Linked DNA regions of Homo sapiens: regions 2, 3 and 4 are each linked to region 1. The links are contacts of gene promoters, found by promoter capture Hi-C in blood cells and fetal thymus (Javierre and others, 2016). All regions are on one chromosome and are shown on one strand. The core of a region is centred on a gene start or on the middle of the fragment in contact, and the rest is flanking DNA. Distances in the headings are between cores, read along the strand shown.

The links. The method cuts DNA at HindIII sites, captures the fragments that hold promoters and counts their contacts. A CHiCAGO score of 5 or more calls a contact.
Region 2: a contact is called between a fragment that was not itself captured here and the fragment with the promoter of GOLPH3L in region 1, in 1 of 17 cell types (neutrophils). The highest score is 6.1, in neutrophils.
Region 3: a fragment that was not itself captured here is called in contact with the fragment with the promoter of GOLPH3L in region 1 in 1 of 17 cell types (neutrophils); the score reaches 7.4 in neutrophils.
Region 4: a contact is called between a fragment that was not itself captured here and the fragment with the promoter of GOLPH3L in region 1, in 1 of 17 cell types (neutrophils). The highest score is 5.6, in neutrophils.

Annotation. Positions count from the first base shown.
Region 1 is chr1:150,695,663-150,698,517 of GRCh38, reverse strand. It overlaps GOLPH3L (golgi phosphoprotein 3 like), which reads left to right and starts at 1,364. Exons shown (of 5, transcript NM_018178.6): 1 at 1,364-1,526. It overlaps HORMAD1 (HORMA domain containing 1), which reads left to right. Exons shown (of 15, transcript NM_032132.5): 15 at 1-458. The HindIII fragment of the contact is 16,001 bases long and covers 1-2,855 here.
Region 2 is chr1:150,451,874-150,454,728 of GRCh38, reverse strand. All of the region lies in intron 7 of RPRD2 (regulation of nuclear pre-mRNA domain containing 2), which reads right to left. Among named protein-coding and RNA genes, the nearest start is that of TARS2, 34 kb to the left of the region's middle. The HindIII fragment of the contact is 9,549 bases long and covers 1-2,855 here.
Region 3 is chr1:150,474,104-150,476,958 of GRCh38, reverse strand. It overlaps RPRD2 (regulation of nuclear pre-mRNA domain containing 2), which reads right to left. Exons shown (of 11, transcript NM_015203.5): 11 at 393-2,855. Among named protein-coding and RNA genes, the nearest start is that of TARS2, 12 kb to the left of the region's middle. The HindIII fragment of the contact is 9,461 bases long and covers 1-2,855 here.
Region 4 is chr1:150,526,900-150,529,754 of GRCh38, reverse strand. The region is part of intron 3 of FALEC (focally amplified lncRNA regulator of ECM1); the gene reads right to left. Among named protein-coding and RNA genes, the nearest start is that of FALEC, 13 kb to the right of the region's middle. The HindIII fragment of the contact is 1,575 bases long and covers 611-2,185 here.

The DNA of each region.
Region 1 (2,855 bases), core at 115-2,614:
ACTGTCATATTGTGGTCCTTAATCTTGAGATAAATCCAATAGAACTTTTGAATAAAAGCAAAAGTACAAATGTCATAATTGATTCGGTAATAAGTAAAATTTCAAAATTGATTTTGTTCATTACCTACTTAATATTTCCTTTAAATATATACTAACTGTTAAGGCCCTCTAATGCCATTTTTCTAAACAGTAATGTTTACTTTGGTATTAAAATTTGGTATGGATTCACTTTTTACTTATGTTAAAATTATACCATTTAACTGGCTCTTTTGTCATTGTGCTGTTATTAAAACAATGTTCTTCAATATTTTGACATAATGTATTAACATTTTAATATATAATGTACAATTTAAGAATTGGTGCTTTACCTTTACTATGCTTTTTTTTACAGGACAAAAAGACTGATTTTTAAAGTATGGCATTTTTTGCAGCATAAATAAAATATTGTTCAGTACGTAGGCCCTTTTATCGCTTCTAATTTTTATTTAAGTAGCAGGAAATATGGCTTCATTCATTTGAAAGGCTGGTAGGAGGATGGGGGGATAGGGAATACTAATTTTTAGATGATTTCGGTAGCTATTACTTTGCAAGAAGAGTTGAGCACACTTTCTAGAATTTTTGAGTGGTAGTATGAAAAATGCTGTGCTTTTAATGAGAAACCTGGGAGCTAGTTCCAGCCTTGCCTGCTTTCTTTGCTTTAGAAAAAGGAAGACTTAAAACTTGGTCTGTTTGCCGCTTGTAGTTTCAGCAGCCATATTCCAAAAACATACACATCCATGGGTTTGTCAGTAATAAGCGCTATAGGGAATGCTGGTACATATGCGATGGTAGAAATGTATTCATCCTGTTTAAGGTAAACCATATAAACGTACACAAACTGACCCAGATCATGTTTTTCTGGAACAGTCAAGTCAAGGATAAACTGACTGTCAGAAACAACCAATGTAAAAATATTTATTTATTTTTAGCTGTATTGCTTGGATCCCAACACATCTCACTTAATTGTCCCAGTATACGCTACTACAGCAACACACCTGCTACGCTGAAATTAACCCACAGAAACCTTTCGAGATTGGCAGCCCATGTTAGCTCACTCAGCGCTTTGATTGGCTGGTTTAATGGGGGTGGGGAGCGCAGCCCTCTTTCCTCTCTTCCACCAAGGTTCCTTCATTGGATTGACCAGCTGTCAGGTTGAACGCAAACCTGCCTCCTTTTGGTGGTGTTTGTCTGGATCGCAACAGAATAGCTGGGGGAGAGCCTCCCCCTGTGAGCTCCGATTGGCGGGACTCAACCTTGGTGATTTCTGATTGGCGCAATGAAGAAACACCAAGGTAGGTTGCCTAGTGATCCTGAGGAAGCTGATGTGTTATTCCTTCTCTGCATCGAAGGATCAGGAAGTTTGTGCTCTCTGCGTGGCTAAGTTTTTCACCTACTAGGACGGGGGTGGGGTGGGGAGAACAGGTGTCCTTCTAAAATACAGCACAAGCTACAGCCTGCGTCCAGCCATAACCCAGGAGTAACATCAGGTAAGCAACGAGAAAATTACATTTCCTAACGTCCCTTCCCCCCACCAAAAAAAACCTCTATTTTTTAAAATTATTATTTTATGGGAGGGAAAGGTTTGTATTCATTTGGGCCATTTGTTTTCTTTCAAGTAGGATTTTTAACTAGTAAATGTGCAGATGAAACTAATTTCTCAAAGAAACCGCCCCCTCTCCCCCTCCCCCCCTGCCCCGCGAAGGTTTAAAGTTTCTTGGATTGGTTTAGGAAATAGTCCCTATTCACAGTGCCAGATAGGCTTAGTGCGCTTAAGAATTTATTTCATGGTTCTCTTCCTCCTTCACTTTTCTTCCCACCTCCCATAACAAATTATATTTGAAATATACCCTTGTACAAAAAAACTTTTGTAGCTCACTTCATTTGTATTTCTATTTTAAATGTTCACATGCACTTCTGAGTATTCATTTTAATCAATATAAATTTATCGAGCAATAACAATGTTAAAGACAGTGCTAGTTGCTATGGAGAATATATAAACCCAAGAAGACAATATCCCTGTTCTTAAGAAGTTTACAGTTGAGAGACAGCTATACCAAGAGAAAGACTATAATAAATACTTTAAAGGAAGTGAGTATAAATAAAGCTCTGTGAAACAGCTGAGGGAGTGGCCATGAGACACATAGGTAATAGAAAAGAGGAGGTCACTTAAAGGCCTTCACAAGGCCTTTAAAGAATGGGTAGAATGTAAAGAGGAAGAGAAAAGGGTGAAGACCCCAGCAAGTACAGAGGAGCAGAAGCAGAAAGAAAGCATGAGACATTTTTGAGAAAAAGTCTGGCAACACTACTTATTAGGAGCAATGGGAAATATTGCTAGAGGAGTAGAAACGAGTCCAGTCATAGCAACTCTTAAATACCATTATTTTGATCTTGAAAAAGATACTCCTTTATATAATTGCTGATTTAAAATATTTGTTATATATTATCTTAAAAACTGATATCTAGATTTATATAAAATAAAGTATGCTAACTATAAACTTTATCACAAATGATTTAGTGCAGTTTCTTTTGACCGTAGTACATAGAATAAAAGACATGTTCTTTGACTTTTTTTTTTAAATTGAGAAAATTTGTTAATCTTTCAACACTCTCTTGCCAGTAATTTTTGTTTGCAGCTCCTTGTGTATTTGCAAGATATGGCTAGCTAGGACTAGAGCTGCTAAGTTTACTGACTGTGGAATTACTACACATGATTTTCTGAATGTTATCGTCTAGACTTGTGATCTCCAAAGTGAGTACATGAAATGAGTCATTAGGGTATGGGAAGGAAATATAGAACATGTATTTCTATTTAGTTT
Region 2 (2,855 bases), core at 128-2,627, 240 kb after region 1:
CTACAGGCACATACCACCACTCCTGGCTAATTTTTGTATTTTTTGTTGAGACAAAATTTCGCCATGTTGGCTAGGTTGATCTCGAACTCCTGACCTCAGGTGATCCGCCTGCCCCAGCCTCCCAAAGTGCTGGGATTACACGTGTGAGCCACTGTGCCCAGCCAAGAAGCATTATTTTTAAAAAGATATGAATACATTAGAATCTAGCTTTTTGCTTTTGATATAACTCAGTAGCTTATAGTAGACTAATGCTCCCATCAAGAACAAGTAGAAAAGCCAGATACACAGACACACTTGTTTGAATATACTGGAGAGTGCTAAGGCCACCAAAAACTAAGTGGCAAATACTATCAGAGGGAAAGCATGGAGAGCTAAGCTGACATTATTTTCTCTTAGGATTCTGCTGATTCTGGGGAGCTAGGCAAGAAGCTGAGAATTAAGGCAAAAAGGACAAGAGAGGGCCACTATTAAATAAAAAGAAAAAAAGCAGAGCTTTTAACAGTCTTGCTGGTCTTAACAGGCAAAAATTAGAGGACTGAAAGGCCAAGATTCTGATGAAAGAGAGAACTGGCTCAACAATTTTTCCTTCAAGATATTTGCTGAATTCTGAAGCTGCTTGAGAGGGAAGAAGCCAAGCAGAAAACCTTGGAAAAAGCAGTGGTCTCATAGTGATGAGGAAACAAGGACTAGAGAGTTCAAATCATGCCATGGAGAAGGGGGCTTAGTGATCATTCCAGGCTCTCTGTGGGAAAAATCTACATTCCAGAAGCTGGAGTGAACCAGAGGTGGAACAAGGCTTGCTTAAACTGCAATTCAGCCTCGAGTCAGTTAGGTTTCAGATTTAATTAATATGACCAGCCTCAATATCTGCCTAGCAAAACAAGGGTGAACTGTCTCTAAAGGAAGAAAAATCATCCAGAGACTCCATAATCTTTTAATGTTCAGCATTCGATAAAAAATTAGCAGGCATGCTAAGAGATAGGTCCAAATGGCTAAAAAGAAAATGCAGACACTACATTAGCAGCTACCTCTGGGCACTAAACAAAACAAAACAAAAACACCAAACACCACTAACATACCCGTAACAGGTGAAGCCAATATTGGAACTATATGACAAAAACCAAACAGCTATGATTAATATGTTCATGAAAATAGTGAAAAATTTCTTTCCCTTCCTCTGTGAGCAATTTAGTCCACAACCCATTAGCTGGAGCTGAGGGAAAAAACTCAGTGGCTTAGAGAGAATGGACCCAAAAATGAGAAAAATGTCTGCATGGGAGGGAGGCATTGCAAAGGATGTTGGAGTCTAAGCAGGATAAAAAGAAAACCCATAAAGGTGGTTGGAGAGAGATGGAAGTGCTGGGAGACTGGCCACAACTGATTAAGTAAAAACACTGAGGCCAGGCGCGGTGGCTCACGCCTGTAATCCCAGCACTTTGGGAGGCCAAGGAGCACAGATCATGAGGTCAGGAGTTCAAGACCAGCTTGACCAATATGGTGAAACCTCGTCTCTACTAAAAATACAAAAATTAGCTGGGCGTGGTGGTGTGCGCCTGTAGTACCAGCTACTCAGGAGGCTGAGGCAGGAGAATCGCTTGAACCCGGGAGACAGAGGTTGCAGTGAACCAAGATTGTGCCACCGCGCTCCAGCCTGGGCAACAGCACGAGGCTCCGTCTCCAAAAAAAAAAAAAAAGTAAATATATTGAAGACAAGGGAGCAAGGTTTTACACTGTTAGAAAAGTAATTAGTAGTGTAAAAAAGTGGTGCCAGTGGCTCACGCCTGTAATCTCAGCACTTTGGGAGGCAGAGGCAGGCGGATCACCTGAGGTCAGGAGTTTGAGACCAGCCTGGCCAACATGGTGAAACCCCATCACTGTTAAAAATATAAAATTAGGCAGGCGTGGTGGCGAATGCCTGTAATCCCAGCTACTTGGGAGGCTGAGGTAGGAGAATTGCTTAAACCTGGGAGGCGGAGGTTGCAGTGAGCCGAGATCGTGCCACTGCACTCCAGCCTGAGCAACAAGAGTGGAAAGTTCGTCTCAAAAAAAAAAAAAAAAAAAAAAAAAGGGGATATGTCAAAAGAACACAGAAAGGAGCTCACATTGACCAAAACTTTGTCAAACTGAGCATCAAAGTAAATATTAGTAGTAATGAATTAAAACAGTGAGTAAATAGGATTCAAGTCCATTCATATAAATAAATGAATACATCGAAAGTCTGGTAAGGAACAAGATATTTACATAGTTTCAAAATACTTCCTCACAAAACATTCATTAATTGGTATATTAGTTTCTTAGGGCAGTGGTTAATTAAGTACTACAAAATGAGTGGCTTAAAACAACAGAAATTTATTGTCTCTGAAGGCTAGTGGTCCAAAATTAAGATGTCAGCAGGCTGTGCTCTCTCTGACACTGGGCAGAATTCTTCCTTGCCATTTCCTGGTTTCTGGTGGTGCCCATCAATCCTTGATGTTTTTGGCTTGTAGCTGCATGGCTTCAATATCTGCCTATGCTGTCACATGATGTTCTCCCTGTGCTTTTGTCCAGTTTCTCAGTTTCTCTCTCTCTCTTTTTTTTTTTTTTTTTTGAGACAGAGTCTTGCTCTCTTGCCCAGGCTGGAGTGCAATGGTGTGATCTCGGCTCACTGCAACCTCTGCCTCCTGGGTTCAGGCGATTCTCCTGCCTCAGCCTCCCAAGTAGCTGGGATTACAGGCACCCGCCACCATGCCTGGCTAATTTTTCCTATTTTTAGTATAGACGGGGTTTCACCATATTGGCCAGGCTGGTCTTGAACTCCTGACCTCAAGGGATCTGCCTGCCTCAGCCTCCCAAAGTGCTGGGATTACAGGTGTGAG
Region 3 (2,855 bases), core at 267-2,766, 220 kb after region 1:
GGGACAAAGGGATTAAAAAAAAAAGGAACGTCTGGAAGAGAGTAAAGTGCAAGTGGTTACGAAGTGGGTGGTCTGTGGTATCTCTGTGTGTGCCTGAGAAATGTGTGGGCGCACACACCACTACTCCCACCCCCATACCCTTGGACCAAAAGCCAATACAACCATATCTTCTGAGATATATCCAGGCTTTTCCTTCTGCATTCTCTAGTTGGTTTCACCTTCGGCCCTGGACAGTCAGGCTGGGTCTTTGCTAGAGAAAACTTAGGTTTTCCAACCACAGGCCTGCTCCACAAAGCAGCGGTTTCAGCTCCTGAGAAGTTCCCTCCTATTTGCACTCACTAGGAAGCCAGGGGCCCCTGGTCCAAGCCCGTCTCAAAGAAAAATGTCAAACCTTTCAAACTAGTTATTTTATTAAACGATATTAACACACATTTCAAAAGGATTTCATTGTTGTTGCTTCTAAAGCATGTACTTGTTTTGTTTTCCACACCGAACACGTGAGAATATCAATCCAACATATCTATTTTAGATCTTAACAGGCGCCCCCGCCCACTTAAAAAAAATAGTGGGGGAACTGGGGAAAGCAGTAATTTACAGCGGCTTCAAAACAGTAACAGCTGAAGCTCAATTCTGCAGGAACCGGTAACTTCAGGATTGAGAGTGAATATCCTGCCATTAGGAAGTTTATCGTATTCACATTATCTCGATAGGTTTGCTGGACCCATATATATCACAAACATTTTATTCCTGGTATTGGAAAGTATAAAAGTCCTATTCTCTGCTTATTTTCCCCTCCCTGGAATCAAACCAAATTCTATTTACTCTCAACTTTTGAGAGGGTAGAGGGGAGCAGGGAGAGAGCTCTCATCTAAGCTGACTGAAGAGTAAACTCTTTCAAAATACTTAAGGACCCTATTTCTGAACTGTATCACTGAACTTTAAGTGGTACTAGTGTATTCACAACCCCTACCAATTCTCTGTCTGTGATTTTACAGTGAGTACCAAGGACCTTACAACTTCTCACATTCTGCTTCCATATGAATCATGTCCTTGCTAAGACACACTATGTTATGCTTTCTTTAAAAAATATCTTGTTTATTTGTTTAAACTCAGGTTGAAATACAAAAGTCAGAGCATGGTCACGGAGTTTTAAATCACAGACACAGAAAGAATAAAACCCCTTTCTTTCACGTTATGAATACCAGAACTGTCTTTTCTGTTTCACTATTTATCACATATATACACACTGTCATCTTCATTTACTGATGTAAATGTAAATTTTAAGATTTCCTTAAAATTAATAGCTGACAGTCTCATACAAATCCTCACTTCCATCCTAAAACAAACATATTGAGGATTTTGTGGCTTAAAAAACAAAAAAGTACCCCACAAAAACCCAACTCCTTAAAAGCCCACCTTCGAAACTGTCCAACAAAGTCTTCCTTTCATGTATTAACCATCATACTTTTGAGGACAATTATCCCGCCCCAACGTTCAGGAAGCCACTTTCCTGACATCCCCACATTTTCTGATAAAAATTAAATGGTCAGAGAGCCTTATCAAGTAAACACTACTTTTAGCTTAAACAAGAGCAGCAAAGAGAATTCACATTCTTTTATTCTAGAATGAAAAACATCCCATTTAATTTCTGCAAAAAAAAAACCTATTTCAATTTTGAAAGTCAAATATCATTTCCCCACCTCCCACCCCATTTTCTCTTATGCTTTTCCCTAACAAATGTCTTAGGACTCAATATAACTATACTTTCTTTTCTTTGCTACACTACATACCCCATCCCACACGTAAGGTCATGGTATCATGCATTTTTGTGGGGAGAGCTACAGGGCAGAGAGGGTCGAGGAAAGAAAGAACAGTTGGCTTAAGACCAGACAGGCATTAAGAAGATGAATGACCTGCAGCATCCTAACCCCAGAACACATGGCGAGCCCAAATAAATAACAGAATAAATTACGCAAAAACTCCCAAATCATGATGTGCACCTGGTTTATGCTGCTCTTTCTCTGAAAAGTTCATTCTGAGAGAATCATTTTCTGTCACTACATTGCCCACCCTCCCCCATCTTTAATATTCTACTGGAGGAAAAAGCAACCCCATACTTCCTATAGTTAGTTCTATACTAACTTGGAAGAAAATATGAAACTTGCCAGAATTCTCTGGAAAACTAAACACATACTGTTTTACTCATCTAGCTGGAGATTATCAGTTGAGTATGCCTTGGGGTAAGACACTAAATTAAAAAAAAATTGTAGTAAAGCAACATTTACTTTTCAGTGTCCCTAGATATAAAGATATAAACACTCAAAGTACAGTGATTGTCTATTTCCCAAGTACTAGATGTAGAAATACAAACAAGTCTTTCAGTCCAGGGAGAAGGAAAGCACTTATCTTGCATGTAAAACAACTAAGGGCAGAAATGGTCTTTATTTCCTATTGGGAGCGAGAGGTGGGGGTAAGACTTGAGCCTTGAAATGGGATAGACACATGTGTATAATATAAAGGAAAATGCTACTGAATCTCCTCCTTTAAAATATCAAGAATAGGGGTGAATAACACGACTGAGGCAAGGGGAAAAGGAAGATAAAGACAAATATTTCTTTCTTTAATAGTTAACCTTTGTTGAAAACCACCAATAAATATCACTTACATTAGGGAGGCACCATGGTAAAATTAATGTCTACTTCTTATATTTAAAAATGCAGGGATAATATTTCTGTTGCACCTTTGTATCAATAGTCAACTGTAGTGACTGTCTTTCTGGCCACAGCAGAAGAAAAACTGAGGGAGATAAAGTCAAAAAGGAAAAGCAAGAGGCATGAGCTTGGTGCAAGACATGT
Region 4 (2,855 bases), core at 149-2,648, 170 kb after region 1:
GTGGTGGCAGGCGCCTGTAGTCCCAGCTACTCGGGAGACTGAGGCAGGAGAATGGCGTGAACCCGGGAGGCGGAGCTTGCAGTGAGCCGAGATGGCGCCACTGCACTCCAGCCTGGGTGACAGAGCGAGACTCCACCTCAAAAAAAAAAAAAAATCACAGATCCCCACAAATCTTTCCATGGGCCCTGCTAGGCAAGCAGGCCATAGGGGAAGACGTTTGGGGTAAATGCTTCAGCCTTTTTGGCTCCAGTCTAGGGCCAAAGGGCAAGCCTTTGAGTTCTACAAGGTTTCATTTTGGGGACAAGGAAAACAAAATTCCACATCTATTTTCATTTACTTCATCTGAGAAAGGAACAAAAGGCAGCAGCCTGCCCACCAAGCCCCCATTTTGGGGCTGACCTAATTACCCAGCTTCTCTCCCACACTCAGATGGCTGAACGCTGCTGGAGGAAATCTTCTAATTCTGCTGGTTTCTGCCAATGCACACGTATGGTTTCTAATCCCAGCTGGGCCTTTAACACTACTTGGCAGCTCTTACTGTACCAGATAAACACTCACACCCCGTTCCCACAATGGTCATTCCAACCCTTCTTTAATGATTCATTAAGCTTTAAAGTTTCCATGTGATAGCAGAAGCCCAGCTGCACATATTTCAATTCACACCTTTCACGGATTTATCCTGCTTCTCCCTCCACCTGTGCTCTAGATCCTTTGATTTTTTTTTTTTTTTTTTTTTTTGCTATTTATTTAGTGGCTCCTGTGCCTGTCATTGGGCTAGGCTCTGGGATGCCTGTCATAGTCTCTGCTCTGGTGGAGCAAATAGCCCTGAGACAAAGACCATCATTCAATAAATATTAATAATTACAAGTGCCAGGCGCAGTGGCTCACGCCTGTAATCCCAGCACTTTGGGAGGCCGAAGCAGACGGATCAAGAGGTCAGGAGATTGAGACCATCCTGGCTAACATGGTGAAATCCCATCTGTACTAAAAATACGAAAGAAAATTAGCTGGGCGTGGTGGTGGGCACCTGTAGTCCCAGTTACTACTCGGGAGGCTGAGGCAGGAGAATGGCGTGAACCTGGGAGGCGGAGCTTGCAGTGAACCGAGATTGCACCACTGCACTCCAGCCTGGGCGACAGAGTGAGACTCCATCTCAAAAAAAAAAAAAAAATTAATAGTAATAATAATTACAAGTGTGATGAGGACCACTCAGGGACAGTGGGGAGTGTTACAGAATGTGTTGATCTGGGGGTTTCAGGAAGGTCTCCCTGAGGAATGACATTTAAAGCTGAGACTTCAGGGATGACATGTCGGCTAGGAATGCTTTGGCCTACACATAACAGAAAACCTGACTAACAGCAAAACCATAAGGATGTTGACTGTTTCCTCAAGAAGCCCAGAAGCAAAAAGTTCCAAAGTTTTTAAGAGGCTTCACAATATCAAGAAGCAGGAGTTGACATCTTTGCAATTTTCTTCACTTCTCTCTCAGTTATAAGATGTTGCCACAGAATCAACTGTGCCTTCCTTATATAACATCATCCCAATGCAAAAAAAAAGAGAAAGGGCTCTGGTTCCTCAACAGCTCTCTTTTATAAGGGCACAAAAATTCATCCACAAGTTCCCTGGAGTCTTCCTCTTGTGTCTTTTTGGTGAAACCTGGGTCATATGCCCACCCCGGATAGGCGAAGAGGAAGAGGGTTACCATGATTGACTTAGACCAATCATGATTTCTTCCATAATACAGCGAGGACCCCACCTTCCCTGAAAATATTTGCTGCCTATTGGATGCCTCACTTGAGGGTCAATGGGACCACCAATTCTGCATATATATGACTAGATAATTCAAGCAAGTCCTCCTACCAATGAAAACTTTTATTTATTTATTTATTTACTTATACATTTTTTGAGATGGAGCCTTGCTACGTCGCCCAGGTTGGAGTGGAGTGGTGCGATCTTGGCTCACTGAAACCTCCGCCTCTCGGGTTCAAGCGATTCTCCTGCCTCAGCCTCCCGAGTAGCTGGAATCACAGGTGCCCACCACCACGCCCAGCTAACTTTTGTATTTTTAGTAGAGGTGGGGTTTCGCCATATTGGCCCCATGTTGGCCAGGTGGGTCTCAAATTCCAGGTTCCAGACCAGCCACCATGCCCAGCCTCTGGTGCTTTTAAAATGAGTTTTTCAAGCTTTTAAGTTTTTGGCCAGGCACAGTGGCCCACACCTGTAATCCCATCACTTTGGGAGGCTGAGGCGGGCAGATCACCTGAGGTCAGGAGCTTAAGACCAGCCTGGCTAACAGGGTGAAATCTCATCTCTACTAAAAATACACAAATTAGCCAGGCGTGGTGGTGGGCACCTGTAATCCCAGCTACTCGGGAGGCTGAGGCAGGAGACTCGCTTGAACCCGGGAGGCAGAGGTTGCAGTTAGTCAAGATCATACCACTGCACTCCAGCCTGGGCAACAGATCAAGACTCCATCTCAAAAATAAATAAGTAAATAAATAAAAAATAAAAATAGGCCAGGCGTGGTGGCTCACATCTGAAATCCCAGCACATTGGGAGGCTGAGCCAGGCTGATCACCTGAGGTCAGGAGTTCGAGACCAGCCTGACCAATATGGTGAAACCCCGTCTCTACTAAAAATAAAAAAAATTAGCTGGGTGTGGTGGTGGGTGCCTGTAGTCCCAACTTCTCGGGAGGGAGGCTGAGACAGGAGAATTGCTTGAACCCGGGAGGCGGAGGTTGCAGTAAGCCGAGATCGCACCACTGCAATCCAGCCTGGGTGACAGAGCAAGACTCTGTCTCAATAAATAAATAAATATATAGGCCAGGCGTGGTGGCTCACACCTGTAATCTCAG